Linked DNA regions of Homo sapiens: region 2 is linked to region 1. Evidence: promoter capture Hi-C in 16 types of primary human blood cells and fetal thymus (Javierre and others, 2016). All regions are on one chromosome and are shown on one strand. Each heading gives the region's core, a stretch centred on a gene start or on the middle of the fragment in contact. The rest is flanking DNA. Distances are from core to core; before and after follow the strand shown.

Region 1 (3,857 bases), core at 1,303-3,802:
GCAGTAATCCTGCCCAGTGCAGTCCTGGCCTTGCAAGTCTGGAGGAGGGTGGCACCCCGAGCCCTGGCAGCAGGCACTGGCCCATGGCTGGCACCGTGGTTAGACAGCTGCAGGGCGTTCGTACTCCCCACGCGGGGTGGACAGCATCCCCTGCCCCATCAGACACAGAGAAATCAACACAATCTGCCTGTCCTGGGTCCCTAACCCACTGCATTCCCCAACCCAAGAGCAGCACGACCCACACTCTCTGGCCCAGCCCCACATCAACTTCTCCATCTTGTCCTGCCCTCTCTTCTCACCCTTGGGAGATGGCCAAACTCTGCCACTCTGTCTCTCTAACTGGCAACAGTGGCCTGTGGATGCAAGGAAGGTTAGGTTGGCTCCTAAGGATGCAACTGCCCAGAGGACATGGAGGTGCTAAGAAGGGCTGGGGGCTAATGGTTTCCAAAGGAGCAGGGTTCAAGACTCTGGGCTGGGAGGGGCAGCCACTCAGCCACTCTGCTACCCTGGTGCCTGGGGAGGGATTCACCAGGAAGGCCAGGGATGCCTCTTTATGTGTGAGTAGAGGGGCAGAGAACGAACCCAACTGTGCCGAGGGCCTTGTGCTGCCTGGCATCCAGGTGTGCCCCCTACCTGGGACAGACAGAGCCCAGTGGGGTGAGGGGGGCAGCCTGGAAATGACAGGGTTGCCTCTGCAGAGGCACAGGAAGGCCTGTCCTGGGGACTTTGGAGGGGTCCTTGCAAGAACCTCAGGCTGGTGGGGAGGGCATCGGGAGATCCGCCAAGGGACTGTCTGCGGGTTCTGTTCCTTCTGTGGGGGGCGGTCAGGGGGCCCTTACAAGAACCTCAGGCTGGGGGCATCGGGAGATCCACCAAGGGCAAGGGGCTGTCTGTGGGTTCTGTTCCTCCTGGAGGGGCAGGGGTCCAGAGCCCGACTGCCTCCTCCCACCACTCCGCCCCCCGCGGCAAGGCATGGCCACAGACCCCCCTCACCCAGATGCACGGATCCTTCTTGCTCAGAATCCCCAGGACCATGGGCATTTCTGCGCTGAGTCCCCATCTGAGTAGCCCTCCACCCGCACTCCCACTCCCCTGGTTTCAGAGGAGCCCCCCAGAGCAGGAACCTAGTCTGTTTTGTTCTTGCCCACTGGGTCCCTGGCACGCGGTACAGACCGAGGTTGGTTCCCACACGTGGAAAGGTGAAGCTTGGGTTCCAAGAGTTCCTTAGCACACGGAGCCCACCGTTCCACCCACCCGTACACTTCTGTCCCCAAAGCTCCTCCGGGACCACAGGGAGGGAAGAGGCAGAGCCGCAGGCGGCTGCAGGGCTTAGGGGGCGCCAAGAGGGCCGCTGTTCTTACAAAGAAATGACACGGCCCCTGGGCGGGATCCAACGCGCCGACCACCTGCAGCTGGACTCGCGGCACGAGGCTGCCCAAGCGCCAGGCGGGGGCCGGCGCGTACAAGTTCTTCGACAGGAATCTCTACGAGGCGGCGGCGTTCCGCCCGCGGATAAGTGCCCAGCTCCCTCCCCACCCCTCCGCACTACCCCCCGAGGGGGTCAGCTTATAAAACCCACCTAGGCTGCCTTTGCTGGAGACCCTACGAGAATCCCCGGGCAGGACCGGAGACGCCTCCCAGAGAGGTCTGTACAGAGCAGAAGGGGTCCGCGGCCACCGTCAGCGGCGCCCCGAAAGCCCGGCCACGCCGAGCCCCACAGCGCCCCGACAGCCGGCCCCGGGGCTGGGACTCCCGGCCTGCAGGCGCGCTGGGCCGAGCGGCGGGCAGAAGACGCCCAGCTCCAGCCGTGGCCCGGGAGGAGCGCCCCGAGCCCGCAGCCCGGCGAGATCAGCTCCGCAGGGAAGAAGCCGGCGTGCGGGGGGCGGGGAGGGGCGGAGGACGACCGAGCGGGGCGGAGGAGACCCTGGCGAGGGAGTGCGGCGCGGGGCTTGGAGGCGAGGGCCGTGGGGTTGCAGAGGAGCCGCAGCGCAGGGAGCCATTCGGGGCCCGGGCGGCGGGGCGCAGGCGGCAGGATCCCGCGCCGGGGGCGAGTAGCCGCGTCGGGAAGACCAGGGTCCGGAGCCCAAAGCCCGGCCAGGCCCGGGTTCCCGGCGCCGCGCCCTCACTCACCCGAGATCTCCGCCTGGGGCACGTCGCTCAGGCTGAAGCCCTTGGCTCCGTAGATCTGGCGGACCTCGCCGCAGCTCCGGCTCTTGCTGGCCGGGTCCCCGCGGGCGCAGGCGACCAGCGCTGCGGCCGCACATAGCAGCCACCAGCCTCGGGCCCGGAGCTCCATGGCGGGGCCGGCGGCGCCCCCGGCCACCCGCCCGCGCCTCTCTCGGATCCTGGCCGGGTCCTGCGCAGTTCCCGCCCGCGAAGGGCAGAGCCAAGGTCCCGGCGCGCGCGGCTCGCGGTCCAGAGGCGGCGGCGGCCGAGGAGGCGGAGACAACAAAAGCCGGCGGCGGCGGCGGCGCGGGGCGCGCGGGGTGCGAGGTCCGAACGCTCGCTCGGGCAGCCCAGAGCGCGGCGGGCTAGCGCAGTCCCGGCTCGGCGCCTCCCCCGCCGCCGGCCCGGCCCCTAGGCGGCCGCGGGAGAGGAGAGGGGCGGGGCAGGGTGGGAGCGCAGGGGTGGGGGAGGGACTGGGAGCACCGGGCGGGGCGGGGCGGGGCGCGGCGCGGGGGCGCGGGCCGGGGCGCACTGGGCGCTCCTCTGGCTCTTAGGGACCCAGAGGGCCCGCCTGGCCGCGCGACTCTATCGATCCCCGGCGGGAGGCGGCGGAGCCGGGCAGCGCGGGGCCGCGGCCGGGGTCCCCGAGGGCGGCCCCCCACGCCCAGCGCCCAGGGCGGTGGCACCACCTGTGGGGGCGGGGACGGGGGCGGAGGGTGCGCGAGGCAGGGCTTCCCCCGCCGGACGTGACATCACGCCTCCCGCGCCCCAATCAGGGGCCTCCCCGCCCCCAGCCGAAATCGGCATCCCGCTCCCCGCTCCCTCCCGCGCGCTCCGGCTTCCTGCACCCTGGCAGCGCGCCCCGAGAACGCTCTCCCGGCGCCTCCGTACCCTCCGCCCGCCGGCCGCGCCTCGAGCCGCCGCCCCTCTCCCCGCCTGCACCCCGCAGCGGCTCCCTCCCCGCGCCCTTCCAGCCGTCTCGCGCTGGGCTCCGGCTCGCACCGGGGGCTTTTGTGGTGTGGGGGCTGCACGCAGGAAACTCGCCAAGAAACTCGACCTCACCTCTCCCAGTCCCAGGGAGCGGCAACAGATGGCTTAATTGTTGGACCTTGACAGCTGTTTTGGGGGGGTGACCCTCCACGTTCTTTGGATGCTGGAGAAACCAAAGTGATGGGGCAGGGCCGGTCTACTGGTTTGGGCTGCTGGGTGGGGCCAGATGACCTCTGGAGAAGGGATAGGGTTGGAACCCGGCGACTAGTTAGGCCACTGGGGGAGGAGGGTGGAGTGAGCCGGAGCAGATGCCTCTTTGAAGAAGGCGGGAGGGCTGCCTGCACCTTGTATGGTAGGAGGGCGCGTGGCTTTAGCTGCACATGGGGAGTTGGGCTGGATGGGGTCTGTAGGGAGGGGGCGAGGACTGCGATGTTGGTGTCTGGAGGGCTTCACTCCTTCCTTGGCTCCCAGACCCCCCACCCCGGCCCCCTGTTCTCCACATGGTAAGGCCTGGCGGTGAAGCCAGGTGCCTGAGCTGCAGAATTGGGGGCAGGCATAGAGGTCAGTATCCTTGGCAGAGAACCTCAAGATGACCCCCATGTACAGCAAGGGTGTCCTGATTTCAGGGCCTGTGGCATCACCTGGAAGCTGCAGCGGGGTCCGTGGTGGGGGTGGTGGCAACATTCCCTACCCCTTCTGTG
Region 2 (3,651 bases), core at 589-3,088, 260 kb after region 1:
TCAGAGAGGACTCTTTGCTGTGTGTTAACCATGCCCTCCCCTCAGGGCCTTTGTGCATGCTGTTCCCTATGCCTGGAATGCTTTTTTCCCAACATCTGCTTCAGGGATTCTCTCCCCAACACCTTCTTAGGTCTTGCCTCACACATGACCACTCAGGCTTTTCCTGACCACCGTCCTATTTAAAATCCCTATTCACCTTCCCAAAACACACACACACGCACACAGTCACTCCTGATTCACTTTTCTGCTTTATTTTCATCCACGGCACCCACTAATGTTCTACGTGTTATATTCATTCTTTAGCTGTCATCCCCTACACACACACACACACATGCACACACACACACGCGCACACACACACACACTCATAAAAGCTCCACAAGGTGAAACGCCTTCATCCTGTTTGTTCCCTCTGCATTCCTAACGCCTGAAACAGAGCTTATCACCTTTTAGACATCTGGTATACTGTGTTGAATGAGTGAACAGAATAACCGACTAAACGCTTCTTGGCCATCCCTAAAGATGTACCTTGACGCAGGGGGATAGTATATAACTGTTAAGAAAGGATGAAATGGGTTTATTTATATTGACCTTCCTGTCAGCATGAATGAGGCTCAAGGTTGTCTTTATTTCAACGTCTGCTGGACTCCATGCATGGGTTCCCATGGCCCCATCCTAGGGAGGCCTCGTGAAGCACAGGGCATCCTGCTGACAGCTCAAGATGTCTGCATCTGCAGCAGCCCCAGTCTGTCCCGGGGCCTTGAGCAGACAGGAAGCAGAACACCAGCAGTGCCTCCCCGTGTGTGAGCCTGAAGCAGAGCCCACCCTTTATCCCATTGCCCCTTCCTTTCTTCCAACGCTGTTAGGTCAGAAATGGAGGTGGCAAGTGAAGTGTGGGAAGGGGCCCATTTATCATTATATTACTTTCCACTAGTTTTTAAAATTTAATCAGAAAAGTTTAATATATCAGAAATTTTTCTGGCTCACTTGTGATGCATTTTTAGTAAAACTGTACTCTCTCTCCAAACCTGAACATTAATAAGAGGAAAAAAAATCAAAAGGAAAGAATTTACTCAATCAGGTTAAAAATCCACTTTCCTAAATTTATTTCAACTCCGAGTTTAGTTGAGGCCAAAACAAACCCTAAAATGCTGTCTCTACACATATGAAGATATCCAAGGTGTACTAAGTAAATTATACAGGTTAGAGAGCGAATACAGAAAGCAGGTTTCAGGTACATAAAATAAATTGTACAAGCACAGAAGAACATGTTGATAATTGTAATAGTGATTAACTAGATGAGAGTGGAAATTGTGGAGGACTTTCTTTTTTATGATATACACCTCTGTAAAGTTTGAACATTTAACTTCAAACATGTATTACGTTTATAATCGCTGAATAGTAACAGTATTTCCATCTTGGGGGAAAACCCCACACACCAAATTGGGGAAGGAAACATTTGCAGTTATTCTGGGCCTTCTGAATATTCCAAGTAGGCAACTGATAAGGTTTGGCTGTGTCCCTACCCAAATCTCATCTTGAATTATAGCTCCCATAATTCCCATGTGTGATGGGCGGGAGCTGGTGGGAGATACTTGAATCATGGAGGCAGTTTCCTCCACACTGTCCTTGTGGTAGTGAATAAGTCTCAAGAGACCTGATGTTTTTATAAGGGGTTTCCTCTTTCACTTGTCTCCCATTCTCTTTTGCCTGCCGCCATGTAAGACATGCCTTTCACCTCCTGCCATGATTGTGAGGCCTCCCCAGCCACGTGGAACTGTGAGTTCATTAAACTTCTTTTTCCTTATAAATTACCCAGTCTTGGGTATGTCTTTATCAGAAGCATGAAAACGGACTAATACAGCAGCTTATTTGAATACACTAAGAACTAGAAGATTACTTTGTTGTTGTTTCTCAGACCTCTGTTATTTTAAGAATGCATGAAAACTAAGTGTTCAAATCATCTCAGTCTCCCCTGAACTTCCCATTTGGCAGGTATTCTCTCCCGCTTGGCAAACACTAGTTTGCACCATGCTAGCCAGGACAGGACAAACACGTGTGCCAAAGACAAGCTCAGAATCAGAAAGAACGCCTGTTCTTCCACAGGGCACCCAGGAGAGAAGTGTGAAAATTCCAGAGCCCTCCTCACAGCGTGGCCTCGTACCACAGGATGCTTTGTTTAACAGACAAACAGACGTTGTCCTTGCAGGTGAGGCCAGCCCAGGGGGAGCCAGGAGTCCAAGGCAGCTGACTGCGGTGTGATGGGAATTTCTGGAAGCCCCATTCACCTAAACACTTCCACAATAAGGATGCTTGAAATTCTATGACAGAAGCCTCACTTGGGCAAATGAGAAGGCTCTATGCCAGAAGGGCTAGGACGCGCAGCTGCCACAGCCTGCTCAGCTCATTCTCCCTAAGGTTTGGACCACCCGGAGAATTTGAAGCCATAGGCACTGCCACAACGTGACTACCCAAGGAAGTGGCCAGGCCAGGATGCTGGTGAGAACTGTTCAGTGGATGTCAGGCCGCTGCACGGGCCTGACTGGAGATGGGGCAGGGGTGGGGACCACCCTTTAGAGGTTCTATAAGCTGAGGAAAGTCAAGAGGTCAGCCCAATCCCATTATCCACCTACCTACATGTCAATATTCAAATAAAAAAAGCAACTTCAGAAACAATGATTGTCTCCCACTGTTTATACCATCAAGTCAAAATTCCTTTACCTTGAGCTTTTAGCTCTGCTCACCACTGCCCTCCAGACCCCTCTCCCTCCACCTCCCAGCCACCTTTTTCATGGCTGGCGTTAAATTCTGCCTGTCCTTCCTGGCTAAAAATGCCCCTTTATTTTAATCACTGCATGTCACACAGCCTAAAGTGACCCCCAGTGAGTGGTAACTTGTATAATCTGCTCCTCTTGAGAGTGGTGGAGACTGTGGCTTGCTTCTAGGTCACACAATGTGACATGGGTGCTGGGCGTCACTCTGCAATTGTGTAAGACTCCAGCGTCTTTGCAGAGTCGAGTGAGAGATTCTCCTGTGGCTTTAAAAGAGCAGCTGCCATGCAGTCCACAGGCACAGGAATTGAATCCTGCTGACAACCTGCAGGAGTTGGAAGCATGTCCTTCCTGAGTTGAGCCTGCAGATGAGAACACAGCCCAGGTGACCCCAGATTGCATCCTGTGAGACCCTCTGCAGAGGACCTTGCTAAGCCATGCCTGGAATGTCTACTTACAGAAACGAAGAGAATAAGTGGTGGTGTTATAAGTACCACATTTGTGGTCATTTGTTTACAGCATGGAAAGCTGACCCCTCTTGCCTCCCATGGGGGCTGTCAAGGGCACAACCCAACTCAAATAAGCCCAGGGTGCAGTGGAGCCAGGGACTCAGTCCCCAGCAGTCTCCCATAGCACTGGAACCTCAGCCAAGGCTTGGTTCGCTGATGTGTTCTACAGAACAGACTCTCCTACAAGAGGACATCACAGGAAGAGATGGAAGAAATATATTTAAGATGCAAGGAGATTGGTAGGTAAAGACTGAAATGGTCAATGCCTGTGTTAGGGGAGCAGCCCTTATCATCCTATCATGAAAGTTTGTTCTCGGAAATAGACATCTATTCCATGGCAGCCTGGCCCGTGGAAAACACACAGAGGTCTC

The links. Contacts are between HindIII fragments. The CHiCAGO score rates a contact against its expected background, and 5 or more counts as called.
Region 2: a contact is called between a fragment that was not itself captured here and the fragment with the promoter of GPC1 in region 1, in 1 of 17 cell types (M2 macrophages). The highest score is 6.0, in M2 macrophages.

What each region holds. Positions count from the first base shown.
Region 1 is chr2:240,434,358-240,438,214 of GRCh38, reverse strand. GPC1 (glypican 1) reads right to left here and starts at 2,552. Exons shown (of 9, transcript NM_002081.3): 1 at 2,131-2,552. The coding sequence starts at 2,296. RefSeq lists enhancers at 50-551, 603-1,179, 2,913-3,489 and silencers at 2,304-2,363, 2,424-3,083. The HindIII fragment of the contact is 5,949 bases long and covers 1,208-3,857 here.
Region 2 is chr2:240,171,103-240,174,753 of GRCh38, reverse strand. No RefSeq gene overlaps it. Among named protein-coding and RNA genes, the nearest start is that of OTOS, 32 kb to the right of the region's middle. The HindIII fragment of the contact is 4,278 bases long and covers 1-3,651 here.